Linked DNA regions of Homo sapiens: all the other regions are linked to region 4. Evidence: promoter capture Hi-C in 16 types of primary human blood cells and fetal thymus (Javierre and others, 2016). All regions are on one chromosome and are shown on one strand. The core of a region is centred on a gene start or on the middle of the fragment in contact, and the rest is flanking DNA. Distances in the headings are between cores, read along the strand shown.

Evidence for each region. Contacts are between HindIII fragments. The CHiCAGO score rates a contact against its expected background, and 5 or more counts as called.
Region 1: a contact is called between a fragment that was not itself captured here and the fragment with the promoter of CEP78 in region 4, in 1 of 17 cell types (monocytes). The highest score is 5.9, in monocytes.
Region 2: a fragment that was not itself captured here is called in contact with the fragment with the promoter of CEP78 in region 4 in 5 of 17 cell types (naive CD4 T cells, non-activated CD4 T cells, naive CD8 T cells and 2 more); the score reaches 6.6 in naive CD4 T cells.
Region 3: a fragment that was not itself captured here is called in contact with the fragment with the promoter of CEP78 in region 4 in 1 of 17 cell types (non-activated CD4 T cells); the score reaches 5.3 in non-activated CD4 T cells.
Region 5: a contact is called between a fragment that was not itself captured here and the fragment with the promoter of CEP78 in region 4, in 4 of 17 cell types (monocytes, total CD4 T cells, M2 macrophages and 1 more). The highest score is 6.8, in monocytes.
Region 6: a contact is called between a fragment that was not itself captured here and the fragment with the promoter of CEP78 in region 4, in 1 of 17 cell types (total CD4 T cells). The highest score is 5.5, in total CD4 T cells.

Annotation. Positions count from the first base shown.
Region 1 is chr9:77,931,920-77,936,845 of GRCh38, forward strand. The region is part of intron 1 of GNAQ (G protein subunit alpha q); the gene reads right to left. Among named protein-coding and RNA genes, the nearest start is that of GNAQ, 97 kb to the right of the region's middle. The HindIII fragment of the contact is 7,087 bases long and covers 1-4,926 here.
Region 2 is chr9:77,916,027-77,921,229 of GRCh38, forward strand. The region is part of intron 2 of GNAQ (G protein subunit alpha q); the gene reads right to left. It overlaps LOC107987081 (a long non-coding RNA gene), which reads right to left and starts at 2,968. Exons shown (of 2, transcript XR_001746758.3): 1 at 1-2,968. The HindIII fragment of the contact is 1,233 bases long and covers 1,058-2,290 here.
Region 3 is chr9:77,889,653-77,894,729 of GRCh38, forward strand. The region is part of intron 2 of GNAQ (G protein subunit alpha q); the gene reads right to left. Among named protein-coding and RNA genes, the nearest start is that of GNAQ, 140 kb to the right of the region's middle. The HindIII fragment of the contact is 323 bases long and covers 3,082-3,404 here.
Region 4 is chr9:78,234,445-78,239,167 of GRCh38, forward strand. It overlaps CEP78 (centrosomal protein 78), which reads left to right and starts at 1,631. Exons shown (of 17, transcript NM_001330691.3): 1 at 1,631-2,159. The coding sequence starts at 1,907. RefSeq lists an enhancer at 1,360-2,029 and a silencer at 1,655-2,024. The HindIII fragment of the contact is 10,697 bases long and covers 1-4,723 here.
Region 5 is chr9:77,860,381-77,865,556 of GRCh38, forward strand. The region is part of intron 2 of GNAQ (G protein subunit alpha q); the gene reads right to left. Among named protein-coding and RNA genes, the nearest start is that of GNAQ, 170 kb to the right of the region's middle. The HindIII fragment of the contact is 6,410 bases long and covers 1-5,176 here.
Region 6 is chr9:77,960,828-77,965,339 of GRCh38, forward strand. All of the region lies in intron 1 of GNAQ (G protein subunit alpha q), which reads right to left. Among named protein-coding and RNA genes, the nearest start is that of GNAQ, 69 kb to the right of the region's middle. The HindIII fragment of the contact is 498 bases long and covers 2,930-3,427 here.

The DNA of each region.
Region 1 (4,926 bases), core at 893-3,392, 300 kb before region 4:
AGAGAGTAGTCTGATAAAAGGCTACAGGGCAGGGTTGGGTGGGGGGACAACAAAACCTCAGTAGTCAAGAGAAATAATATTTTAATGCAATACTTTTAAAAGTCAAAATTAATACCCAAAATTCACAAAGAATAAAATAAAGACAGGATCATTAACAGAACTATGTTGCACCATATTGGCACCTAAGAAGCTGCCTTTGGTTTTGATCCAGTGGCAAGTGCTTTTATTCACCTTATCTAGTCTCAGCCCTGACTCAAATTCTCCATTCCCAAAATAACTGAGATAACCATCACCAGCATTTCAGTATTTAAATTCATAGTGTTTGGAGATTTTTAGCTTGAATTGTTTATTCTTAATTTTATTGGATATAGATTGCATATCAGACATTCTTCCAGTATCAAGGATGCAGGACACAGTCATTACTGTCACAAAGGTAACATGCAAGTGTGAGCAGATGATTTATTGATAGATGAATAATAAAATATCTAATGGAGATGAGTGCTATGCGCTAAAGAATTAAACGACAATGAAATACAGAGTGACCTGACTGCTGCTTTGAGATACCCTCTTAAGAAGGTACATTAAAACTAATATTCAAGAACCCGCAACAAGAAAATTAGAAGGAAACAGCATTCCAAGCAGTTGACCAGCTGACTTGGAGGCTGAGGTGGGAACATATTTAGCTGGCATGTTGCAGGTACAAGAGGGTCAGTGTGGTTGTGGCACAGCAGCTGGATGGCAGAGGTAGGAGGCACGGCAGGAGCACAGGCTACAGTTGCAATGGCCAAGTCACCTGGAGCATTATATTTTAGGAAACAAGTTGGATTTTATTCTAAGTGCACTGGACAGCCTTGGAAAGTCTGAACCAGTGAAGTAACAGGCCTTGATTTATGCTAGGTAAAGAATGGATGACTGTTAAGAACAAATTAGTAGGGTATTCCAACAATCAAAACAAAAAAAAATCCTAAAAAAGTCTGTGTGGGGCTGACAAGGGGAGGGATAGTTTGGAGATGGATGAAGTGAAAAAGGGAGGAGATGACATAGGGAGAACTCGTTGATTTCTGGCTTGATGGATGGAGGCACTAGATTCTTAGAGAAGCCTGAAGAGGAAAGAGTTTGCAAAGAGAGGAGGTTAAGTTTGAAATGTGTATTCATCCCAATGAAAAGCACTCTCGTACACCTAGAAAGTTCACTGCATCGACATGGAGACTACCCACGGAGGATGAAACAGAGGATGCGATTTGTGTCCTACATTCTCTGGGCCTCAAAGGCAAGGACACAGACATGACTGACCGTCTTCTGCTAATGTGTGAGTCAGAGCAGGCTGCAAAACCTGATTTGCAATTTCACTTCCTATGAGATAAATCTCCTTAGCTAAAGAAAAGGTAAGAAACTTGTTGGTCTCTAAGTTCCACACACAGACACACAAACACACACACACACATTTATAAAGTGGCATCATCTGGCCAGGAGCGGCGGCTCATGCCTATAATCCCAGCACTTTGGGAGGTCAAGGTGGGTGAATTGCTTGAGACCAGCCCATGTTGAAACCCCATCTCTACTAAAAATACAAAAATTAGCCAGACGGGGTGGTGCACGCCTGTGGTCCCAGACACTCGGGAGGCTGAGGTGGGAGGATCACTTGAGCCCAGGAGGCAGAGGTTGCAGTGACCTGAGATTGTACCACTGCACTCCTGGGTGACAGAGTACGACCCTGTCTCAAAAAAAAAAAGTGGCACCATTGATACATGCACACTTCTTTTAGAGAAAACCGGGACTTCCCTGAACATTATTTGGGAAGCAGAAAGATATAAAAATATAAAGTCATAATAATAACAGATTTTAAGCAGCGAGGACCCTTCAAACTTAATACACCACCCACAGAATTTAACATTTTTTTTCCAGATAATAAAAAACGTGACACACGCAATCCAGATTATTAGGTCACACATAAAGATAAATTGCACACTTTAAAAATGCAGCGGCTGGGAAATTATGGGACGCTCTTTTGAAAAGCACTCTGAATTTCCTTATTAACCCTGCAAATACTTCCTCAGGATAGAACAGCTCATGTGGCCCTCCTCAAAAGAGAACAACAAATTACATTTATAACAGAGGAAAAGGCCTAAGATGGATTTGAAATGCCATTTTCCACCTTATTGCATATTCATCAAGAGATCAGCTACAGGCAGAGGTGCGGCACAGAAAGAACATCAGCTGAAGTCAGGGGCCCTCCCAGCCCGCCCACAGGAGACAACGATCCGCACATAGCCACTTGGCCAATGAGAGCTGAGGATGAGCGAATTGGCCTGGATGACCTCAAGGGTTCTCTCCAGCGTTGGATTTTATGATCATTTTCCCTCTCTCTATATTGTTAAACAGCATTAACAACTATTAAATTTCTCACGAGAACGTCACCTAGTATTTAGTATATATTCAAATAATAATTCAAATAAGTTGACTAAAAACTACAGTAGTCTTCTTTCAAGGTTAATATGTCAAGTTTTTTTTTTGCTTTTACTCACGTGGCTCTTCACTTTGAGCCTCTAAAAATAATTATCTTTCAAGGTAGGGGAATTAAGGTGCTAGAGGGAGCCAGCCAAGTACTGCCCCAGTTAAGAGAAGCAATGATCTAGGAAGTCTCAAAAAATACGCAGATTTTCAGATTGCAGAACATGGCATGCTTTCTGGGCTAATATTATCCCAGTAATTTCAAATAATGACATTGAGAATACTAAGAAGGACTTATATATGTTCCAAGTGTGCCTAATACGCATACAACCACAAAAGGATCTGGAAGACAGAAAGTATCATGGAAAACAAAAGTTACTGAATCTGCACATGCAGAGCAGTTACTGACCTTTAAGGACTTTTAGAAGTCCACTGTTCATGTGGCATCTAATAGTCAGTTAAAAGGAAAATTAGGGCCGGGTGCGGTGGCTCACGCCTGTAATCCCAGCACTTTGGGAGGCTGAGGTGGGTGGATCATGAGGTCAAGAGTTCAAGACCAGCCTGATCAACATGGTGGAACCCCGTCAATACTAAAAATACAAAAATTAGCAGGGTATGGTGGTGTGGGCCTGTAGTCCTAGCTACTCTGGAGGCTGAGGCAGGAGAATCACTTGAACCCTGGAGGCAGAGGTTGCAGTGAGCCAAGATTGCACCACTGCCCTCCAACCTGGACGACAGAGTGAGATGCTGTCTCAAAAAAATAAGAAAATTATACCCAAAGAAATACTTCCCTTTTCTTAAAGGAAGAAAAAGAGCATGATTAGAACACACATGTACAAGCAAGCCAAACCTCTGCATTGTTCACATTTTAAAGTTTAAAATTCTCTCTTGGGGGGAAATGTTGATGTTGATCAAAAACCATAGTACCTGCTGGGGGGTCTCATTATTGGCATTAAACCACCCAGCAAGGACTCTTGAAAGTATCATTTCCAAATGGCTATTTGGGAGAATCCAACTACGTCATAAAGAGATGCATTAGGAAATCAGTTGGGTTCTCACTTCTCCTAAAACAAAAAATTTTTTAAGATTCAGCTTTTGTAAAAAGCCAATACATTTGCCATTGGAGATAGGAAGTTGCCCCTTGGTAGCGAATGCTCAGAGAACTTCGAAGATAGGTACATGAAATGTCCCTGTTCTTTTAGGTTATAATTACTCCAAAGCAGTCCAAAGATGCTTCTTGTGTGTTCCACATGTGCTGTCCAAAAGACAGGCGCAACATCTGGTACCACCAATTTTGATGTCAAGACGATTTCACCAGCCAGTTAAAAAAGGTACCCTATGGGCTGTTTCATTAATTTAAATTTTGTCCTCTAATTTATTTCACCTGATTGCCCTATGTTCCTCCAGTATTCAATCCAGTGACAGGAACAGACGTGCAACAAAATGGTAACAGAGCAGGAGTCTCTCTTCCCATCTTTCCCCTTCAGTTTCTTCAGAAACAGCAATAGTCAACCTAAGCCTAAAATAAATAAATGCGGGTTTCCTTACTACTAAGTAAATTGCACATGGAAATATGCCTTCTTCCTGCAAAGGGAAGGATCTCTTTGCTCGGAAGTATCACACCTTGAAATGTATAACAAGCAGGCAGGAAATAAGAAAGGACACTCTTACAACCAGAATTACTCCTTGAGAAAGTAAAGTTAAAGAAAGTACATCGGTGCATTTTATTAATGTTTAGTAAAGCCTGCACATATGATGACTTCCTACCATTTGCCTGAAAAACGAGGAAGTGAAACCAATTTGCCTCTTAATTTAAATTGAGCCTCTCCTCTTGTTCTACAACCCATGAAGTGATCCAAGAAGCAAAAACTAGAGTTAAAGGGGAAGAGATATCATAACCCAAGATATAATGTATGGCTCTTGGATTAGTTCTTGGTTTAGGCCTCATGACCCAACAAATGCTGTCTGAATTATAGCAGTATATACTCAGACCTTATTTTTAATACACCGACCCAATAATACATAAAAATAACATTGGAGGAAGCATAATAAACATGGTTTTAGTCTTTAAAAAAACGATCAGAAACCAACTGTCTTATATGCAACCTTCCCCCTGAAATGTTTCATCATAGAAAAGATAAAAAAGTCATTAAGGCATCTAGTGAAAACAGTGCCTCACATAGACTGTACTTGCTTACTTGAACCAGTAAGGAAGTTAACAGAAATTAAACCAACTAAATGCAAAATACTTTAACAAATCAAAAAAAGAAAATATTGAATCACTAGGCATCACTAAGTTGGGTGATATTTCCAGGGGTTTGTGAAATCACACCCATACCCCCGCACTCACACCACACATGAGTTGGGGCAGGGCTTCAAAAACCAAAAGCTGTAGCCTAACGCTGACCCTAGAATGATTCCTTTCTTGTCCTGTTGTGTACTTAAGGCTCTCCCAAGTATACTCACCATCAACTT
Region 2 (5,203 bases), core at 424-2,923, 320 kb before region 4:
CCAGAAATCTGAATCTTAGGTGGGTGACAGAAGATTGGAAATGGCCAGAGTTCATCCATTTCACAGATGAGTTCTCTGAGCCTGCCCTAGTTTCTAAGAGGCCATCCTTCAGCTTCTACTCCCTTCTCCCAGTGAGTCCATTTTCAGATAAATTCATTTTCTGCTTAAGTTAGCCAGTGTTGGTTTCTGTTGCTTGCAAGCAGAGAACCTTGACTGATAGAGCTCTTCAGAGGGGTAGATAAGAATATGTATTTATTAATTCTGCCTCTATTATGTATTTATTATCTAGGTGGGAAATACTAAAATGAAATCAGCCTTTTGGCATTTTGTAAACTAAGAAAATTCACTCATGTTGCACAAAGTAGTAATGTTTTATTCCTTGATCAAGGGCAACAATAAGTTGGCAAGTTTTCCAGAATCCTGGCTACATTTTTCAGGAAAATGAAAAATGGCTTCTGGGACCTTGGATTATTCAGGAAGTACAGAAAATTCAGAAAGTGTCAAATGTGTTTAACGAGGTACTTTCCTGTGACAAGTTCTTTCTCAGAATTGCTTAGAGAGGACAAAAGGCACTGTAGCAATACATCCTCTCATAACCCCTCCATGCTAGGCGAAAGGGAAACACAGGTGTCAGGCCTCAAAACGCCTGGCTAGTTTGTCAGAGACAGCTGCAGCCAAGGTGCTAAATAAGCCCTGGTTATCAGGACTTTCAAGTCTAAAAGGAAAAACTGGTTTACAAAAAAAAAAAGGTGCAACTGTCCACTCAACATTGGCCCAAGGTGAGGCGGAGTTCTCTTAGACAACTGTCTTAAAATTCACTACATGAAGAAGCATTGTATCAGATTCTTTTCTCTTCCCAGGACTGGCAAAGAGAGCAATGGCCTATCAATACTTTGAAATTGCCACAATACCACCCTTATTTCACAGTTCATAGAGATTATAAGCCAACTATCAAAGGATACTATGATCCGCTATCTGGAGTAATTCACTCAATAAACAAAAGCTTCTACAACATGTCTGGCATGTTACGGAGGAGATAAAGAATTATAAAGGAAGAAGCTTGCTTACTGTAAGATAATTTTCAATCTGAGAAAATAAGGCAAACAAATATGAAATAACTAGTAACAGGCAACGCAGGAAGAACCCCAACTGCCAAGTTCAGACAGTAAAAAATCAAGGATTCCAAACCCTGAGATCCACTCCCTCAGCTGTAACTCAAAGACAGTTCCTTGGCCACATAAACACAGGCACTTTATATCCTTTCCTTTTTAATTAAGAGCTGATTTCAACACCAAAGCAAAGATCCATCAGAAAAGCACATCGGTATAAAGAGGGCGGAAGGAGGGTGGGGGGGAAGAAGGTAAGAAAAAATAACTACTGGGTACTAGGCTTAGTACCTGAGTGACAAAATAATCTGTACACCAAACCCCCATGACACGAGTTTACCTATAAACAAACCTGCACATGTGCCCCTGAACCTAAAGTAAAAGTTTTAAAATAATAAACTTAAAAAAAAAAGGAAGCCATAAAATAACAGGGATAAAAATTCTTTCTTTTGTAAACTAAGAAATGACACAGTTATCTCACAGTCAAATGCCCTTGCACCTAGTAGAGCCTTAAATATGGCTTTTGATTTGACCGAGTGACAAATACTTAATCCCTTTTTATCACTAGTTATCAATATTTGTGTTCAGGGAAAATGCAAAATAATATTTAGGAATAAACAAACCCTAGTTCACAGACTATTCAGAAGTCCTAAGACGTATGTCTTCTCTCACCTGGGCTGAGTCCAAGCAGCTCACCTATAAACAGTGCTTGTTTGGCAAAAAGTACAAGAACAGGACAACAGATACACACTCGGGGAAGAATTCATCTTTCTTTTGGTAAAATGTGCAATTACAAGCTCCTTACTAATTATGCAATCTGTTGACAAAGGGCATGCAATGTCACACCATTTGGTCCAGAGACTGTGAACTGGACTCCCCCTGACCACAGCACCCTCCGGCCAGCTAACCAGGCAGGACTCTCGGTTCAAGCAATAACAAGTAAGCAGGAGCAACAGAAACCTCAGTTACTCTGGGGTGGCATTCCAAAAGCCAGAATCAATTTCACAGCAAACAAAACTGAACACTTTCCCAGTTCAGAAGAGCTCATATAATGTACAGGCCATGTTTTGCTTTATAAAATACAGGAGCTCAAAAGCAAGTACAAAGTTATGCTGGACAATATTAGAAAGTATCTTTATTTATGCTACTATAGATTATGGCCAATGTGATGGTGGGTGCAGAGAAGCTTTACTAAAAACCAAATGGTTATGTTTTTAAGCCAAATTTCCAAAATAGTTATTTATTTTATATCTTTAGTGTCACAATAATATAAATCAGAATGTGATACCTCCATGTAACTGTTAATCAAATATACACCAAATTCTTTAGACTATTTATAAATTATAAAGTATATACCTTTGTAACCATAGAAAACTCTAACCAAAACATAAAATATTATTATTAAAATAATAAACACAAGAAAATAAAATCCAAATTTAGCCTGCATGTGAAATCTTTCATGAAACATCCTAAACCATTTTCTAGTCCTCCTCTATAAGAATTCCACTCAAGCTAAATTGGCAGATTTCTACATCCCATGCAAATTCCTTCTTCTGATCATTTATTATAGCCATTCCTTCTCCCCAATGTGCCCCTCCCTCAGATCTGCCCTTCTCCCTTTCTGGATTGTAAATTTCTGCCCAGCCCTGATTAAACTTTTCTGTATCCCTGACAGTATATAGCATTTATTCCCTTATGCATACAGATTTCAAGAGTTATTTGTTGATTTGAATAATCATTTCGACAAGTTTAGGGCAGACGAGGAGACTCTCAATTGTTAAGCTCACAAATAATTTTTTTTGTTTGAGATGGAGTCTTGCTCTGTTGCCCAGGCTGCAGCGTAGCGGCATGATCTCAGCTCACTGCAACCTCCACCTCCAGGGTTCAAGCGATTCTCCTGCCTCAGCCTCCCAAGTAGCTGGGATTACAGGCATGTGCCACCACGCCTGGCTAATTTTTGTATTTTTAGTAGAGACAGGATTTCACCATGCTAGCCAGGCTGGTCTCAAACTCCTGACCTCAGGCTACCAGCCCGCCTTAGCCTCCGTAAGTGCTAGGATTACAGGTATGAGTCACCATACCTGGCCACAAATAATTTACCTATTCAAAAAGATGTATTTTTTGAGCACTTACTATGTACAAGATATAATGCCAGGGACAATGAAGAATGAATGCAAAGATGGAACTGATGAAGACTGACTTTCAAGGAGCTCAGAATCTAGTGAGGAAAATAAGATCAACATCCAAGTCACCATAATCAATACAAGCTAGGCAATTACAAACACTTCGCTATGGATATGCTAAAGAACAGTAGGATTACTTAGCACTATGAGGGGCTGGGAAGCTATCAGAGAACTCTCGGAAGAAGAGGCAGCTGAGCTGAACAGGAAGGAGTAGACATGATGTCCTTAACAAGCATAAACAAAGGCAACAAGTGGGCAGAGTTCAGAAAGTTAATGGATGAAGCAAGGTGAAAATGACGCTTTAGAACATGTATATGATATAGAGAAAAAGAAACAAACGTGAAAGTCATTTGTAATATGAATGAAAGGTGGTTAAACATGGGAAACTGGGAGGTCATCACACTAAAGTCATGATATGTAGGAGGATTTATGAGGATAATTATGGTATCTGAGGAAAACTCATATATTGTAACGTTTTATGATGTCAATTTATAACTGAATAGTATTCAACACAGTAATGTCTACTTAATTAGAATTGACATGAGGCCGGGAGAGGTGGCTCATGCCTGTAATCCCAACACTTTGGGAGGCCGAAGCAGGCGGATCATGAAATCAAGAGATCAAGATCACCTGGTCAACATGGTGAAACCCCGTCTCTACTAAAAATATAAAAATTAGCTGGGCATGGTGGTGCACGCCTGTAGTCCCAGCTACTTGGGATGCTGAGGCAGGAGAATCGCTTGAACCTGAGAGGCGCAGATTGCAGTGAGCTGAGATCGCGCCACTGCACTCCAGCCTGATGACAGAGCAAGACTCTGTCTCAAAAAAAAAAAAGAATTGACATGAAAAGTTCAAATAACTTGTTAAATATTCTTCAATGTGTTACATGAATAAGGCATAAATTCCACCCCATCTTTAACATCTACATGACTGTATAATAAATGATCTTCATATGGGCAAGGTCCTGTCTTAAAACAGGGCAAGGTCCTGAAGGATTCTTCTGGAACATCTAAGAAATAAGATTTTGGGGGATAAAATTCAGGGAGATTATATTTTAGTGTGTAAACTGGCAGTGTGGTGTGTATATATAAAAAACAAATAGCACACACATGGTAAGTCAGGCAGAATTCATCAGATCATCATATTATTAACTGACCGTAAACTGGAAAACTCGCTGGTATTAAAAAAATAAACAACAAACAAACTCAACACAATTACAACTACAAGGAAACAAGCATGCTAACGATTTCAGAAACCACTGAGATTTCTTGGGGCAGGGAGAACCCTGATCCTTTCAAATTCAGACTACTTAGATATATCCATGCAGCTTACTCTGGCTCAATTACCATGTTCCTGGGCTCACAAACTTGCACAGTTCTTTTTCACCCTTGAAAATAAAAGCAGGAGGAATTATTTGTGGAGGGTCTTTTTGTTATTTGTGGAAAGATTCCTGTTGCCACCGGAAAACCAGGTATGAAAGTATCAATTAGGTAAGAAACCAGTGTTAATTTCAAGGAACCATCTAAGAAAAACAAATGCCTGATTTTAAGATGATTTGGTATTTTATTATAGAAGCCTTGGGATGGTAACAGAGGCAAAGGTATACAGAATTGCCTTATTTTAGCAGTGGGTTCACTTTGTGAGTTAAATCTATGAGTCCCACTGGACATTGCAACTTCTTGCTATTGCTTACTGATCTTGGAAAATGGAAATATCCTTCACAGTAGATTTATCAAAAGTACTGAGAGAATGAAAATTTCTTATTGAAGGCTCTAAAATAATTATAGGTATAAATGCAGTGTTTTATCAACAAAAGGCAAGGCTCACTTATAGGATCAGCATATCTAAAATCCCTGAGGAGCAAAGACTGCATCCATGGGGGATGTATTGATTAACGGGAAGGCAACGAAGTCT
Region 3 (5,077 bases), core at 1,993-4,492, 340 kb before region 4:
CTTGATACCAGGCAGAAATGTTTCTTGTTTTTTCTCTTCCCTTTATTATCACAGTCTCTAATGAGTCCTGCCCACTGTATTCAATTAGTATGCTTCTCTTTGTCAAAATACGTCACCGCTTATTTCTAACCAAATGCACAACTATCTTTATACCTGTTCTTTTGGTTTTTTCCCAAACTCTTAAATTATCATGGCCTAGAAATTTTAATAAACTGACATTTCATCCCAAATGAAGCTTTTGCTTCCATCTTTCCAGTTATCCGAAATGTTTGTCAAAGTCAAATTGTATTAATTTTACATGCAAACATTCTATAATATGCATACTAAAAACAAGTAAAACTACAAGTTAGTTACTCCTTTTATCTACTCGCTTACAAAACACATAATAGCTAATCCTTCAAATAGACATGGGTTTGTAAGTTTTCTACTTTATTCTTTATTAAAAATTATTTTAAATGTTTAAATTTTGAAATACTTTATCTTAGTTATAATGTATCTTAATTCTGTTCCCAATGTAATTGCCGATTCGCACATATCTTTGTATTGGTTATTTGGGTTGGCATACCATACTCCTAGAATCCTCCACAGTACTTCTTCCAGACCCCTAAAAAACTTGAGAGTTTGACTGAAAGACTTCATAATAATTTATCGAAGCCATCTGGCATTACTTAAGCTATGCCTAAGAAAGCTTTAGTAGCATTCATTTTCTAAATGTTCTTATTTCATCCTGAAAATAGAGGGGGCATAGAAATATGAGAATTAGAAACGTGTCATAAAACTGCATTGCAAGGCTGGGCACAGTGGCTCATGCCTGTAATCCTAGCACTTTGGGAGGCCGAGGTGGGAGGATCACCTGTGGTTGGAAGTTCGAGATCAGCCTGACCAACATGGAGAAACCCCGTCTCTACTAAAAATACAAAATTAGCCGGGCGTGGTGGCGCATGCCTGTAATCCCAGCTACTTGGGAGGCTGAGGCAGGAGAATCGCTTGAACCCAGGAGGCGGAGGTTGCGGTGAGCCGAGATCACACCATTGCACTCCAGGCTGGGCAACAAGAGTGAAACTCTGTCTAAAAAAACAACAGCATAGCTCTAGTAACAAAAATTCCATCAAAAATGCATTGAGGAGACATGATCAGGATACTTAGTTTTCAATCATTTGCCCAGAGACTCGTCAGATGGTAGTATCTTACTCAAAAGTCATGGTATAGGTGGGGCACGTTTAGTTGCTCATGCCTACAATCCCAGTAGGAGGATCACTTGAGGCCAGGAGTTCTAAACCAACATGGGCAAGCTAGTGAGACTCTGTCTCCCTGGAGGAGTAGGAGAAGGAAGAAATGCAAAAGATATGGTATAGCAAGAGAGTGTTTTAAATTTCCATAATCTGTTTCTTACTTTATGTATCCTTGTTTCAGGGCTTAACTTTCTAATTCATTAACATAATATTCAAATATAAAATGCACTGAAGTCAGCACTTAAGCAAAAATGAGAACCTTTAGTTTTCCTTATTTTGATTTTTTTACTGTATCCATTTTGCCATTTATATATCCTCATACATATTCTCATCTAAATTATTCTTTTTCTTGCCTATTCTCAGTAGCCAGCCCTATCACACGTTCTCCTCTCCATCTCTTGCTCTCTTTCGTAGCAGCAGTTCTTATCTTTTCTCTGCACGTTTAAATAGTTTCTGTATATTTTTGTTGAATTATTTCCTTTACCTAAAATAGGTTGTTTTTTGGGGAGGGGAGGAAGTAGGAGATCGGGAAATGGTTATTTTAATTTTACATCTTAAAAATAAAGCAATTTACTGACCTTGCCACCACATAATTTGGAAGAAAATTTCACGTTTAAGTTCCTTTTGTAAGGCTGAGGACATGTTGCTATTGCTCTGTCTTTATATGAATGTATTATACGATTGTCATCTAGGACTTCCTCAACACCCCAGCCTGAGGGCCCTGCCTTTGCCACTTCTTTGAGGCCCACTCACTGCCCCCAAGTATACGCTGTCTTTCCATTTTGCTTGCCCTATTAGATATGTGAGGTCAGAGCTTTGAAAGCCGTACTAGTTCTCATTAGCAAGGCCTCCATATCAATAACACAGACCAAACAACTGTGTGCAGTGCTTGCTGTTCACTCTTCCAGTGTGATTTCATTAGCATGTATTCCTTTAGTGTCTAAGCTTTTTCTTTTTCCCCTTCAAGCACATTTTAGACTCTAAGCAACTAATCCTTGTGGACAAACCCCTTTGAACTACAGCTTTGAAGCCAGGTCATCGCCCCAGGCATGAAACAAGATGAGAAATAAGCCTTTAAATACTAATTTCACCAAACCCTGCCTTTTTTCAAAAGCCAAGATTCTGTAACCAGAAAGCACCCCCCAGATTGTTTTTTTGTTTGTTTGTTTGCTAATAGGTCTTGAGCAGCAAATTATATTATTATTTTAAAACATACTAGGTTCTAGTTTCAGTTGTCCTTCTATGGCATCTAGGGATTCTTAAATCTAGCCTAGTGCATGGATTTTGAGTCCACTGAGCTCTTCTGAAACGTTATCTGTCACAGTGGGGCCTCTCTCCCCTGCTTTGTCTTCATGGGGCTTTCCAGCCCTAGTGTGGAACCCATCCTCCTCACTCCTCTGCAGCTCTTCCCCTTTCACAAGTACCTTCTATCACTCCCTATGCCATGTAAATGCATTAAGTAGGCTCCCAGCTCTGCCCACAACCACTGCAACTGATTATCAAACACAAAATAAACACAAAGAAGGACACTGTCTTGGATTTCTCATAGGTTCAATACTGGTTTCTATCACACCCACACTGGTTTCTTCTAGGTCAATGCCCACTTTCATGGACAGTGTTCAGAATATATATATGATGTTCTATCTTACAAGAGTGAATTTCATAAAAAGTTCATTCAGAGATGTGAAATCCTCGGTGCTGCGAGTGATCTTTAACAACAGTCATAAGCAATGTTTTGTTAAAAATAGAAGCTGAAGAGCATTATTGAATATTAACATGACCTGGGCTTTATTCTGTGGCATAAATGACGTGGAAATCAAACATATGCTACTCATTCTCACTTGAAAAAAGCTTCATTTATAGGGCACAGATAAGAATCTATGAGGAGATTAAAAACACTGAATGATCCCTTTTGGAAACTAGTAAATAATACATACTTTGAAAAGAAAGAAAATCCCTTGTCATGTTTGGTAAACAAGAAGCTCCTCAAAGTTTTTCCTTCACCTCTTGAATAGGAATAAAATTAAGAAACAATGGGTGGAATATATGCATATTTGAATGTAGTAGGTAAGATAACTCTATCAAAATGTCAAAGGGTTTTATTGTTCCATCCATTACTTAATTATCTAAGGGTAAACTGCCCACTTTATGGATAATCTACTAGGCTTGGAAAGCTTCAACAGGGTCATGATGTCAAAGGGTTTCAAACCAGAGCGACTCCATCTTGAAGTCACTGGGTAAAATGAGGCTGAGACTACTGGGCTGCATTCCCAGATTAGGCACTTCAAGTCACAGGATGAGACAGTAGGTCAGCACAAGATACAGGTCATAAAGACCTTGCTGATAAAGCAGGTTGTGGTAAAGAAGCCAGCCAAAACCCACCAAAACTAAGATGTCCGTGAAAGTGAGCTCTGGTCATCCTCATTGCTCAATTATCACACATTAGCATGCTAAAAGACACTCCCACCAGCATCATGACAGTTTACAGATGCCATGGCAATGTTCAGAAGTTAACTTATATGGTCTGAAAAGGGGAGGACCCCTCAGTTCTGGGAATTGCCCACCCTTTTCCCGGAAAACTCATAAATAATCTACCCCTTGTTTAGCACAGAATCAAGAAATAACTATAAGCATACTCAGTTGAGCAGCCCATGCTGCTGTTCTGCCTATGGAGTAGCCATTCTTTACACCTTTACTTTCTTAATAAATTTGCTTTCACTTTACTCTATGGACTCACTCTGAATTATTTCTTGCTCGAGCTCCAAGAACCCTCTCTTGGCGTCTGGATGGGGATCCCTTTCTGGTAACAATGAGGAAAAGCTGGGTTGTAAGGAAAACAGATGAACTAGTAGGTCATACAAGTACTTATAGTACAAGCTTTAAGTAAATTTATGGATTCTTGTCTATTTGGCACCTGAAGAAGAATTCAAGGAAATCAGGTCCTTGCAACTAAGCCATTAGAGGGTACAGCCTCAGCATCCATTAGAGGTGAAGTCTGCTCTCCCTGCAGGGGCCCCAGTCTTGTCTGACACCTTCTTCCTCCCCACTCTCACCTGCGGACACCATGCTAAACTCTCGAAATACATTTTCTCTGAGATGATTTCAGAATGGCTCCGGCATACCAGGCACTGCTTGAGGACTTCAGGGCTCTTCTAGTGTCCCCCATTTTAGAGGTGAGGAAAATGTGTCCTAGAGAAATTATCTCACATGGCAAATAAGTAACAAAGCTAGCATTCCAATCGAGATGTCTGGTTTGTAAACTCTTCTTTCCAGAATGCCATGTCTTTCATGTTATTTCTCTGTTATCTGTACTACATAGATAAGGGTATTACAGTATTCTTAAAATATAACTAAATTTTAAATGTTTCATTTAAGTCATAAAAGAAGCAGTATTGCTAATAATACACTGTTTTAATAGAATATATATAATATATATTTAATAGAAAATATATATTATATATATTTAATAGAAAATATATATATTATATATATATTTAATAGAAAAAAAATATATATTTTATATATATATTTAATAGAAAAAATATATATATATTTTTTGGAGACAGTCTCACTATGTCACCAGGCTGGAATGCAGTGCTGTGATCTAGGCTCACTGCAACCTCTGCCTCCCAGGTTCAAGCAATTCTCCTGCCTCAGCCTCCCGAGTAGCTGGGACTACAGGTGCACGTCACCATGCCCAGCTAATTTTTGTATTTTTAGTAGAGACAAGGTTTCACCATGTTGACCAGGAAGGTCTAGATCCCTTGACCTTGTGATCCATCTGCCTCAGCCTCCCAAAGTGCTGGGATTACAAGCGTGAGCCACTGCCCCAGCCTTTAATGGAA
Region 4 (4,723 bases), core at 381-2,880:
GCTTTAAAAAGGTAATGGACACTACATTAATTGATGCTGGAGACTAGAAAGAAAATGGATAGAGCAACAAAGAAATCGTAAAGTTGGAAACAATTTAAATTACCATCAACAGAAAAACAGACACATTACTGTATGTTTCTACATGGAACTCCCATATAACAACAGGGAAAATAAATGAATATCTCTATATGTCAACACGGATGGACCTAGTAAAGGTAACGATAAGTAAAGTAGGAAAAGAAAATATAGAATGTTATATACTGCTTACTTACATATGTAGCAGAAATATAAAGACATACATTGCAACGATGAATACCAAGTTCAGAAGAGCAGTTATCTCAGAGTCAGAGAGTAGTCGTGATTGGGAAGGTGGTTACACAAAGCTCTTCAACAGGAATGGTAATGTTTCATTTATTAAGCTGGTTTATGAATATACAAGCGTTTACTATATTAAGATTTGAGCATGTCGCACATAAAAATAATTGGTGACCATATCTCCGGAATTTTAGAGACGCCTGCATATGTGTGTTGGAAGTAAGTTGGAGTATCCGGAATGCAGTGGGTGGAACAGGAATGCAATAAACACAATGTCTAAGGCTCTACCGGAGGACTATCATTGCTCTAGCAATTGCATACCAATAGAAGGAGAGGTCAATTATCTGGATTCTTCCACTTAGCTTCCACTTAACTTCCCCGTTCCTCAGTTTCCCCTTTTGTAAAGTAGAATATAATAGTATATTCCTTGAGATGTTAGGAGAATGAAATGATTTCATACTTAAACATTGCTTAAAATAATCCCGAGGACATTATTTCAAATAAGTACTAGTTACAAGGGAGTTAGCCAACATCATCGTCAGTACAAAACAAACTGATTCACAGCAAACACAATAAAGTCCTGAATTCATGAAACACTCTTCAATTTGCCAGGAACCGTGTGAGATATGCAGAAACTACAGAAATTAAGGCTTATTTGTAGATATTAACACAGACATAAAAGATTTAATGACCGCAGTTCACGTTCAATCAGCCGTTCCCACATCCCTTGAGTGCAGTCTCTGTGCTGGCTGGACACTGCAAGCACAGACACATTCCTCAGATGTTTAGACTTTTTTTAAAAGTGCGTTGTTACATCCACATTTCACTTTTTATTTTCTTTCTTTTTTTGAGACGGAGTTTCGCTCTTGTCGCCCAGGCTGGAGTGCAATGGCAAGATCTCGGCTCACTGCAGCCTCCGCCTCCCGGGTTCTAGCGATTTTCCTTCCTCAGCTGGGATTACAGGCGAGTAGCTGGGATTACAGGCGCCCGCCACCATGCCCGGCTAATGTTTGTATTTTTAATTGAGACGGGGTTTCGCCATGTTGGCCAGGCTGGTCTCGAACTCCTGACCCCAGGTGATCCGCTCGCCCCCGCCTCACACAGTGCTGGGATTACAGGCGTGGGCCACCGCGCCCGACCACACATTTCACTTTTATTCGGATCGATCAGTAAACTCTTTCGCAAACCCTCAAACTCTCCCGACCACTATCTCAGGTAGCAGCGAACTCACCCGTCCTCAGGAGGCGGGACCTGCGTGCCGACGCACAGCGAGCACGTTGACGTCTTGGCGCACCGTTCCACGGCACCGCCCACCGGCTTGAATCCCGGCGCCTCAGAGGACTATGAGGCGGGCGCCAACTGCTTGGGCCGCAGGGCGGGAGGCAGCGCGGGAGTGGGGCGTTGAGGGGCCGGCCTAGCTTGGGGCTCTGGCCTTGCGTCTTCCGACCGAATCACCGCTCCTGAGCCCGGTGCGGGGCTGCCGCTATCGCCTGGCCGTGGGTGCCGGAGCGGCCGGGTTGCGACTCAGCGTTCTTGGGTGGGCGCGGGCGGCGTCTCCGCGGCGGGCATCCCCCGAGGCCGCCCTCGGGCCATGATCGACTCCGTGAAGCTGCGCCGCGACAGCGCGGCGGACTTCTTCTCCCACTACGAGTACCTGTGCGCGCTGCAGAACTCGGTGCCGCTGCCCGCCGTGCGCGCCTGTCTCCGGGAGGGCGTGCTGGATTTCAACGCCGACCGCCTCCGCGGGGTGGACTGGGCGCCTCTGCTGAGCACCCTCAAGATCAATAAAGACCTGCCCTTGGTCTCCATCAAGAGCTTCTTCCAGCCCTGGCTGGGGGACACAGGTTTGTAGTTCCCGCCTCCAGGGCCCCTCAGTCGGTGCGGCGAAGTGGGTTTTTAGGTGAGTGGTGTCCATTGTCGGGGTATGTGTGCAATAGAAGGGGTGTGCGGCCTGGACACTCACGAGCTAGGTGAGTGGCTTAAGGTCTCTAGGGCTTCAGTGTGCTCATCCGTAACATGGGCTTAATAACGAGACCCAGGTTATGTGCGCCTTCGCAAGGATTCCCTGCGCTGCTGATGCCTGCAGAGCTCTTAGCACAGTTTGGGACATCATTAAACATTTGACAGATGTTACCTATTTTATTGAATGACTTTGATTTGCCTGATAGAGAACTAAGCAGGTAGGAAATTAATACATGTCAGCCTTTGTCTTTTTTTTTTTTTTTTTTTTTTTTTTTTTGAGACACTGTTTCACTCTGTCGCCCAGGCTGGAATGCAGTGGCAAGATCTCGGCTCACTGCAACCTCCGCCTCCCGGGTTCAAGTGATTCTCCTGCCTCAACCTCCCGAGTAGCTGGGATTACAGGCGCGCGCCACCATGCCCGGCTAATTTTTGTATTTTTAGTAGAGATGGGGTTTCACCATGTTAGCCAGGCTGGTCTCGAACTCCTGACCTCAGGTGATCCGCCCGCTTCGGCCTTCCAAAGTGCTGGGATTACAGGCATGAGCCACCGCGCCCGGCCTGTCTTCATTTTTTAAGGTGTATATAAGAAGTTTGTAAAGTGCTTTACAAATACAAGCCATTTGTAAATGTATAGTGGTATAATTAGGGATCCAGACTCTCTGATTATTCGGAAAATATGTTAGGTCAACTATGATATATGACAAAATGCTGTTATTCCTTTGAGCACTTAGCATTTTCTACATAATGGAGGCAGCTTCCTATAGACGCTAGCTAGGTAACAGGAAGGAACAGTTTGTGCAAAAGTTTTGGAAATAGGAGAGAGTATGCAAGCTGAGTTACAGGACTGGAATTTAGGTTTGAGAAAGAGCAGAGAGAGTTGAGGCTGGAAACCTTGTGGGGGCCAAACAGGGAGGGTCCTCGTTTGTCCTGTCATAGAGTTGGATGTTTATCCTGAAGGTTTTGGGAAACCGCTGTAGGATGATGAGATGGAATTTCCGTAGGAGCTCAGTCTAGCCTCCATATGGAAGACAAATTAAAATTGGAAGGATGGTGAATTGTAATCTAATGGCCCAAACTAAGGTATAGAAAAGAAGGGCTGGGGCCGGGCACCGTGGCTTATGCCTGTAATCCCAGCACTTTGGGAGGCCAAGGCGGGGGGGTGTGGATCACCTGAGGTCAGGAGTTCGAGACCAGGCTCACCAACATGGTGAAACCCCATCTGTACTAAAAATACAAAAAAAAAAAAAAAAAAAATTAGCCGGGCGTGGTGGCGGGCACCTGTAATCCCAGCTACTTGGGAGGCTGAGGCACGAGAGTTGCTTGAACCCAGAAGGTGGAGGTCGCAGTGAGCTGAGATTGCACCGTTGCACTCCAGCCTGGGCAACAAGAGCAAAACTCTGTCTCAAAAAAAAAAAAAAAGAAGGGTAGGATTTCAGATATCTAAGAGAATGGATGGGCGTGGTGACTAGTTAGAAGAGGGGGGCAGCAAGTATGGGTGACAGTTTACAGCAGCGTCTGTAAGTGAAACACAGCAGCGTCTTTCCATGACACAGCCGAGTTAACTCGAATGAGATTGGGGGTGGGAGGAGGATCTCAGTTTGTCTTTAATGTTTTAAGAGGGGCCTGTGGGGCATCCAAATGTGTCTGCTAGGCAGATCTGGGCCCAAGATTTAGGCTTTGTGGGAGGACAGGTATTTGAAGGCATGGGAGGGACCTAGATTACCCACAAAGAAGATCCAGATAATTGTAGGTCTGAAAGGTGTTTTTTAAGTGGATATGGACGTGAACATGTTTATAAGCTGAGAGAAAGAGGGAGGGTGTGCGATCTGGGAGAGGAAATGATTATTGATGTATTTAAAAACAACCTGACCACTTGTCGTGTGCCCGGCCCTTTTCTAGGCTCTGGGGTTAGCACCATCTCTTCTGCAAGGACAGTTCAACACATCTGCTTCTGAAAATAAGTCAGATTATTCTCTACATCTCATTCAGGTGCAGGAACTGTTCTGTACCTCTGAATGGACTTTAGTTAACCAAAATAATATCAGGAACCAGGCCAGGTGCGGTGGCTCACACTGGTAATCCTAACACTTTGGGAGGCCAGGAGTTTGTGACTGGCCTGGGCAACATAGTGAGACTCCTGTCTCTACAAAAAGTAAAAAATATTAGCTGGGCTTGGTGGATCTCTTGAGCCCGGGAGGTTGAGGCTGCAGTGAGCCATGATTTTGCCACTGTACTCCAGCCTGGGTGACAGAGCAAGACCCTGTCCATGACCCTCCCCCTACAAAAAATAAAAAAACCAGGAACCAAAATAAATTAAAGATGGGAGGGACCTCAGAGTCAAGGCTAGCCTACTAGATCTTGCCTAATATTTTGCACTGAATGTAAGAAAAATGTATTACAGACCATTCTCGTCAGATATTCTTCACTGAACCTTCTTTATCTCTTG
Region 5 (5,176 bases), core at 1,045-3,544, 370 kb before region 4:
TCAAAAAAAGGCTGACTGCACTACCCCACCCCAGGGGGTATTCTGTTGCTATAAAGACTGTGGAATGCTACAGAGATTGAGTAGGTGAGGCGGCGGGGGGATTGTTTGGGGATGAAACTGTTACACCTCAAATCATCAAGCATTAGTTATATTCTCATAAGGAGCGTGCAACCTAGATCCCTCCTGCACATGCACAGTTCACAATAGGGTTTGCACTTTTGTGAGAATCTGATGCCGCCACTGATCTGACAGGAGGCGAAGCTCAGGCAGTAATACTCAGGCAGTGAGTGCTAGTTCGCCCGCAGCTCACTGGTCCATGGCGCGGGATGTTCGGGACCCCTTCCATAACACACTGAACAGTCCCCACAGGACTGGAAGGCAGAGCATTTATTTCCCTGGCTCTTCCGTGGAGGTTGCCTCAGGCTAGATGTACTCCCAGCTGAAGTTCATGACTCCACTTAAGGCAACAAACTCTCCTTATCTCTCACTCTCTGTGGTAAGAAGAATAATGGCCCCTCAAAGATATCCACCATCCTACTCCCCAGAATTTGTGAACATATTACTGTCTAAAGTCAATTTTCACTGCTATAAAAGAATACCCGAGGCTGGATGTATTAGTCCATTTTCATGCTGCTGATGAAGACATACTCAAGACTTGGCAATTTACAAATGAAAGAGGTTTAACGGACTTACAGTTCCATGTGGCTGGGGAGGCCTCACAATCATGATGGAAGGCAAGGAGGAGCAAGTCATGTCTTACATGGATGGCAGCAGGCAAAGAGAGAGAGCTTGAGCAGGGAAACTCCAGTGTTTACAACCATCAGTTCTCATGAGTCTTATTCACTATCACAAGAATAGCCCAGGAAAGACCTGCCTCCATGATTCAATTGCCTCCGGCCAGGTCCTTCCCACAACACATGGGAATTCAAGGTGAGATTTGGGTGGGGAAACAGCCAAACCATTATTATTCTGCCCCTTGCCACTCCCAAATCTCATGTCCTCATATTTCAAAACCAATCATGCCTTCCCAACAGTCCCCCAAAGTCTTAACTCATTTCAGCATTAACTCAGACAGTCCAAAGTCTCATCTGAGAGAAGGCAAGTCCCTTCCGCTTATGAGCCTGTAAAATCAAAAGCAAGTTAGTTACTTCCTAGATACAATGCGGGTACAGGCATTGGGTAAACACAGCCATTCCAAATGGGAGAAATTGGCCAAAACAAAGGGCTACAGGCCCCACACAAGTCCAAAATCCAGTAGGGCAGTCAAATCTTAAAGGTCCAAAATGATCTCCTTTGACTCCATGTCTCACATCCCGGTCACACTGATGCGTGATGCATGAGGTCAGGCATGGTGGCTCACGCCTATAATCCCCACACTTTGGGAGGCTGAGGCAGGGGGTCACGAGGTCAGGAGTTCGAGACCAGCCTGGCCAACATGGTGAAACCCCATCTCTACTAAAAATACAAAAATTAGCCGGGCGTGGTGGCATGGCACACACCTGTAATCCCAGCTACTCAGGAGGCTGAGGCAGGGGAACTGCTTGAACCTGGGAGGCGGAGGTTGCGGTGAGCTGAGATCGTGCCACTGCACTCCAGCCTGGGGGACAGAGCAAGACTCTGTCTGGGGTAAAAAAAAAAAAAAAAAAAAAAAGAGGTGGACTCCCATGGTCTTGGACAGTTCTGCCGTTCTGCCCCTGTGGCTTTGCAGGGTATACCCCTCTCCTGGCTGCTTTCACAGGCATGCGTTGAGTGTCTGCAGCTTTTCCAGGTGCATGGTGCAAGCTCTCGGTGAATCTACCACTCTGGGATCTGGAGGATCTCTTGTCACTCCACTAGGATCTCTTCTCACAGCTCCACTAGGCAATGCCCCAGGAGGGACTCTGTGTGGGGGCTCTGACCTCACATTTCCCTTCCGCCCTGCCCTAGGAGAGGTTCTCCATGAGGGCCCCACCCTGCAGCAAATTTCTGCCTCGGCATTCAGGCATTTCCATACATCCTCTGAAATCTAGGTGGAGGTTCCCAAACCTCAATTCTTGACTTCTGTGCACATGCAGGCTAATACTATGTGGAAGCTGCCAAGGTTTGGGGCTGTCACCCTCTGAAGCCACATCCCAAGTGGTACCTTGGCCCCTTTCAGCTACTAGTGGAGCAGCTGGGCCACAGGGCACCAAGTTCCTAGGGTGCAAACAGCAGAAGGACCCTGGGCCAGGCCCATGGAACCATTTTTCCCTCCTAAACCTCCAGGTTTGTTATAGGAGAGGGTGCTGAAAAGGTCTCTGACATGCCCTGGAAACATTTTCCCTATTGTCTTGGGGATTAACATTTGGTTCCTCGTTACTTATGCAAATTTCTGCAGCGGGCTTGAATTTCCCCTCATAAAATGGAATTTTCTTTTCTATCACATTGTCAGACTATAAATTTTCTGAACTTTTATACTCTGCTTCCCTTATAAAACTGAATGCCTTTAACAGGACCCAAGTCACTTCTTGAAGGCTTTGCTGCTTAGAAATTTCTTCCGCCAGACACGGTGGCTCATGCCTGTAATCCCAGCACTTTGGGAGGCTGAGGCACGAGGATCACCTGAGGTCAGGAGTTTGAGACCAGCCTGACCAACATGGAGAAACCCTGTCTACTAAAAACAAAATTAGCCGGGTGTGGTGGCACATGCCTGTAATCCCAGCTACTTGGGAGGCAGAGGCAGGAGAATTGCTTGAACCCGGGAGGCAGAAGTTGCAGTGAGCTGAGACTGAACCATTGTTCTCCAGCCTGGGCAACAAGAATGAAACTCCGTATGAAAGAAAGGAAGGAAGGAAGGAAGGAAGGAAGGAAGGAAGGAAGGGAGGAAGGAAGAAAGGAAGGAAGGAAGAGAAAGAAGGAAATTTCTTCCACCAGATACTCTAAATCATCTCTCTCAAGTTCAAAGTTCCACAAATCTCTAGGGCAGGGGCAAAACGTTGCCAGGCTCTTTGTTAAAACATAACAAGAGTCACCTTTGCTCCAGTTCCCAACAAGTTCCTCATCTCCATCTGAGACCACCTCAGCGTGGATTTCACTGTCCATATAATTATCTGCATTTTGGTCAGTCATTCAACAAGTCTCCAGGGAGTTCCAAACTTTCCTACATTTTCCTGTCTAATTCTGGGCCCTCCAAACTGTTCCCACCTCTGCCTATTACCCAGTTCCAAAGTCGCTTTCACATTTTCGGGTATCTTTTCAGCAGTGCCCCACTCTATTGGTACCAATTTACCGTACTAGTCCATTTCACGCTGCTGATAAAGACATATTTGAGACTTGGCCATTTATAAAAAAAAAGAGGTTTAATGGACTTACAGTTCCACGTGGCTGGGGAGGCCTCACAATCATGATGGAAGGCAAGGAGGAGCAAGTCATGTCTTACATGGCTGGCAGCAGGCAAAGAGAGAGCTTGTGCAGGGGAAACTCCAGTATTTAAAATCATCAGATCTCATGAGACTTATTCATGATCACGAGAATAGCAAGGGAAAGACCTGCCGCCATGATTCAATTACCTACCACTGGGTCCCTCCCACAACACGTAGGAATTCAAGATGAGATTTGGGTGGGGACACAGCCAAACCACATCACTGGGTAATTTATAAAGAAAAGAGGTTTATTTGGCTCATAGTTCTGCAGACTGTACAAGAAGCATGGCACCAGCACCTGCATCTGGGGAGGACCTCAGGCTGCTTCTGCTCAAGGCAGAAGGCAAAGGGAAGCAGGCACCACATGGCAAGAGAGGAAGGAAGAAAGAGGGGAGGAAGGTGCCAGGCTTTTTTTTTTTTTTTTTTAAACAATTAGTTCTCTCAGGGACTAACAGAGCGCGAATGCACTCATTACTGGAGGAGGAAACCAAGCCATTCATAAGGGATCTGCTCCCATGACCCAAACACCTCCCATTAGGCTCCACCTCCAACACTTGGGGTCAAATTTCAACATGAGACTTGGCAAGGCCAAACAAACCATATCCAAACCATAGCAGTTGCTTTACATAGCAAAGGGAAGGTTGCAGATGAAATTATTGTGGCTGATCAGCTGACTTTAAGATAAGGAGATTAGCCTGGATTATCCAAGTGGGCCCAATGTAATCACAAGTGTCCTTAAAGTTGAAGGAGGCAGAGGAGGTCAGAGTGATGCAAAGTGAGATGGACCTGATCCCTGCTGCTGCGTGGGAGGATGGAGTAACAGGACACAAGCCAAGGAATGCATGTGGGACCATCCTGGAAAAGACAAGAAAACGGACACTCCCCTAGAGCCTCCAAGAAAAGAATGTAGCCCCAGTGACACTTGGGTTTTGACCAGTAAGACCAGTTCATACTTCTGACCTCCAGATGTCTCCAATGGTTTAAGTTACTAAACTTGTGGTAATACGTTACAGCAGCAATAGGAAATGAACACACTCTTTTCTGGTTCTGCTCACTGTTCTCCTTTCAGGCCTGGGGAGGAAACAGACTGTCTTCTACCACATCATGAAATCTCCTTGGTGGTTTCCATACCCATGCCTTTGGAGACAGCTTCTTTAAACCCTACTCTAGAGTATTTTGAGTGTGCCCTTGTTGGAATTTGGAATCATGTATCCCTCCTACCTTATCATTTGGCTTTTTCCCCATCAAAAAGAAAATTAACACCTTTTCACCTACTAAAAGAAAATTAACCCCTTTTCACCCTAAGCTGCAAACGGAGTCAAATTTATTAAAACCTAGAATGACTCCACATTTGTCAGTAATCTATGAATTTCTTTTAACTTAACAAACAGCTCACTCCGCTCTTCCATACTTCTTTTCCTACCTGAAAGGCCACTGAGGCCAATCATCAGATCAAGAGTCAGTATAAAGTGAGTTCAAAATGATGGCATTTGGTGAATACTTTTTTCAGAATATCATTTCAAGAAACTACATGTGACTTACAGTACTATGGGAATAAAGAGTCATTTTTCTCATCCTTACCTATGTGATTTTATGAAATTACTAAACTCATGCAGTAAGAAAGCTATCTGTATCACATAATCTGTATCCTGAAACTTTAGGAAATTTCTGACTAGGTTAGATATCAGCCTTTGTCAGATAAATGTTATTTCAAAGCAACCCAATTAAACATTGTAAATACCAAGGAGCAAAGTCCATGGAGCTGTTATATGTAAAGAGCAGCATCACCAACCACG
Region 6 (4,512 bases), core at 1,929-4,428, 270 kb before region 4:
AGAGTTTACATCCTTTCCTGTATTTTTCATGGCTATCTTTAAAATGAAATACTAACGAGCACAGGAGGCCTGGAAATCATTTTGTACAAGCAACCATTTCATAAATGATATATGAGATCATTCCCTGTATGACATATCTTTAATACATTTCATTATTTGAAACACATAGTTTGGATTCCAACAAACAGAACAGTTCAAATTCTAGCCATTTACTCTTTCCTTTAAAAGTAATGTCTGGTAACACTTTTATATTTAAAATTAAAATAACAAAAGTAGATGCTTTTAGAACCTAATGGATATTACCAGACTTTGAATTTATACTCATTCACTTATAAAATGGGGGGAAAAGCCCAGGAAGTCAAATAAAATATACAATTGTTTTAACACACGACAACAAGGAGCACAGGGATACAAATAAGGTAAATCCTAGGACTGCCTCCACATAACCACACGGCTTCAGTTTCCACACAACAACATGGCAAGGAGGATCCCAAAAAGAACCCAGTGCTCTCACTGGGTTGAAAAACAGAGATCAGAATCGAGAAAGGCTTAGAATCCTAGAATGTGCATGACAGAATGCTGGAAAGGAAAGAGCTGAACAGAGAGAAAGCTCTTGAGATGTGCAGAAGGGTGCCCTTGAACCTGAAGCTCAATAATAATGATCTACACGTGAGTGGGGTGAGAAAGAAACATGGGAACACATAGTCTGAACAATTCCCAAGGTTCACACAGGTTCACTGCACCACAAAGAAGGAATCAGTGAGTTTTCATAAGGGTATCAACGTAATAGTGAAGTTTAAGTAACTATGAAAGAGAGGCTGCTCTAAACTTACCCTAACAAAGCCTAAAAGCAAGACTACAAATTACTGAAGTGATCCCAAGTAAATCAGCTGCATGACAGAACAAAGTCCACCACTTTTCAAAGGAATCCAAAATATCCAGCAATCAACAATGTAAGATTCACAATGTCTGGCATCTTACCCAAAACTATCAGGCAAATAAAGAAACAGGAAAAGGTGACCCATAACTCCAAGAAAGCTCAATAAATTTAGACCCAGAAGACAAGGATGTTTTTTAAAAAGCAGTACTAGTTAGGTTCCACCACCTCAAGAATGTAGAGGAAAACATAAACATGAAGAAAAGAGAAAGGAATGTATTTTTAAAGTCCCAAATGAACTTCTGGCAATTAAAAATACAGTATCTAAAATGAAAAATACAACAGATAGAAATAAGAGCAGATGAGACTGAAAAGAAAACATATGTGAACCTGATGACACAAAAATAGAAATTATCAAAAATGAAGCACAAAGGGAAAAAAAGACAGAAAAAAACGAGCAGTCTCAGTGTGGAACAAAATCGAGTTATCTAATATACTTGGAATTTGAGTACTAGAAGAAGAGAGAAAGGTGGGAATATAAAAGGAAAAATATTTGAAGAAACAGCATCTGAAAATCTTCCAAATTAAATGAAAACTATAACACTATTGATCTAAGACCCTCAACAAACATCAAGCAGTAGAAACATAAAGAAAACTACATGAGGCAGTTCATAATCATCCTGCTGAAAACCAGTAACAGAGAGAAAATCCTAAAAGCAGCCAGAGAGAGAAAGACACTTTACATGTAAAGACACAACTATTTACTGCTTACAAAAAACACTTTCAATATGAAGATAAAAATGGTTTAAAAATAAAAGAAGGGGAAAAGATACACCATGCTAACACTAATTAGAAGAAAACTATGGTGGATATATACAAGAGGTCTTCAAAAAGTGCATGGAAGGCCAGGCACAGAGACTCACACCTGTAATCCCAGAACTTTGGGAGGCCGAGGCGGGCGGATCACTTGAGGTCAGGAGTGTGAAGCCAGCCTGGCCAACATGGTGAAACCCCGTGTCTAATAAAAAATACAAAAAGTTAGCCGGGTATGGTGGCAGGCACCTGTAATCCCAGCTACTCGGGAGGCTGAGGCAAGAGAATTGCTTGAACCCGGGAGGCAGAGGTTGCAGTGAGCCAAGATCACGCCATTGCACTCCAGCCTGGGCAACAATAGTGAAACTTAGTCTCAAAAAAAAAAAAAAAAAAAAAAACAGTGCATGGAAAATGTGTATTATGAAAAAACTATGCATGGATTTCAAAAATGTTTGTACCAAAATACAGACTTGTTATAACATATCTGAACAGGATCTAGTTTGAGGCACTAAGAATAAGAAGATACTGGTTTGAAAAACGCCACTATCAGAACAACACGAATTCTGCTAAAATTGAAGTAAGAACAAATGCCAAATTTATAGTGAAACTCACGTGGAAGAACGGTGAAATCACTTTGAGGACAATGCCCCAAAGAAATCAGCAGTTTATAAGTGGATAGCTCATTTTAAGAACGGATGAAATGATGCTGAAGATAAGGCCCACAACAGCAGACCATCCACATCAATTTGTGAGGAAAAAATTAATCTTGCCCTAATTGAAAAGCACTGACAATTAACAGTAGAAACAGTCGACACCACAGAAATCTCAATTGGTTCAACTTACATAATTCTGACTGAAAAATTAAAGTTTAGCAAACTTTTCACTCAGTGGGTGCCCAGGTCAGCTACAGTCAAGAGTGGAGCTTTCCGTGGAAATTTTAAACAACTAGGATCAAGAGCCTGAAGCATTTCTTTGAAGAACTATAACAAGAAATGAAACATGGCCTTACCAGTACGATCCTGAAAAAAAAGCACAATCAAAGCAATGGCTACGAAGAGGTGGAAGTCAAAGCAAATGCAGCAGAAGGGTCAAGAGCAAAGGTCATGACAAAAGGTTTTGGGGACACTGAAGGCATTTTGCTCACTGACTTTCTGAAGGGCCAAAGAACACCAACACCTGCTTATTATGAGAGTGGTTTGAGAAAGTTAGTCAAAACTTTAACAGAAAAATGCCTGGGAAAGCTTCACCACAACAATGTTCCTACTCGTTCCCTCTCATCAAAAAAAGGACAATTCTGTGAGAATTTTTACAGAAAATTATTAGGCATCCACCTTATGGTCCTAATTTGGCTTCTTCTGACTTATTTTTGTTTTCTAATCTTAAAAAAAAATTTAAAAGGCACCCATTTTTCTACAGTTAATAATGTAAAAAAGACTGCCTTGACATGGTTAAATCATCAGGACCCTCAATTCTTTAGGAATGGACTACATGGCTAGTATCATTGCTTACAAAAGTGTCTCGAACGTGATGGGGCTTATGTTGGGAAATGAAGTTAATACTTTTTATCTTTTAATCAATTTTTCCACAAAATTTCTGAAGTCATCTCATATTAATAACAGACACAGATTTTAATGCAAATAATATTATCAGAAATAAAAACAATCATTTCATAATGATAAACCGGTTAACTTATCGAAAGGACATAACAATCCTAAATGTTTATGTATCCAATAACAAAGCTTCAAAATATGAGAAGCAAACAATGATGGAACTGCAGAGAGAAACGGACAAGTCTACGATTATACTCAGAGATTTTAATACCCCTTTCTCAATACTTAATAGATCAAGTAGAGAGAAAAGCAATAAACCAAGTAGAGAGAAATACATCAAAGATAATAGAGGACTTTAACAACCCTGTTAACCACTTAACCAAACTGACATAGGCTGCTTTCCCAACAACAACGAAAAACATTATTTTCAAGTGCACCTGAAGCATTTATCAAGATAAACTATATTCTGGGCTATAAAACCAGTCTCAATAAATTTTAGAAGAGTCATATAAAATATGGTCTCAGACTACAATGGAATTAGAGATCAGTAACAGAAAGATACCTAGAAAAATCTCCAAATATCTGCAAACTAAAAATAAAACAAAAACAACAAGAAAAACCACTTCTAAGTAACACATAAGAAAAAAATCAAATAGATATTAGAAAGTATTAGAAACTAAGTAATAATGAAAACAACATATTAAGTGTGAAATACCACTGACTTGTACTTAGAGGTAAATAGGTAGTACCAGACACCTGTATTTAAAAATACAGAACTCATTTTTATAACTAATAATCTTAAGATAAAATACCCATTACAAATACTCAACTTCTCTAATATACTGGGCTTTTACTCAATTACAATTCACTGTACAACCCTTCACTCAAGCCTATCCACAAGCCAAAACCTGGTATCACTTCTATTAGACCTAATGTGACTAGAAAAGTCTATACCAAAAACAATTTCACAAACCCAGATCACAGCCTCCATTACTGTAACTACTCAAAAAGGCCTAATTAAATTTTATTTCCTCTTTTTTTATTCCACCCTTTTTTACTTTACTCTGAATTATCTAACCTGTTACCCTGAGTAATTTCAATCACAACATAAACACCAACAATGTTCAACCAGCAACTACCACCAATCAACACCCATAATTATATAAAGCACCCACACCCACAGAATCCTCACGAATCAACCCTGTCCCCTCACCCTCAAAAACCATTCAACTTCCCATACAATTAAAATTAACTACGACCACCAGCCCATCA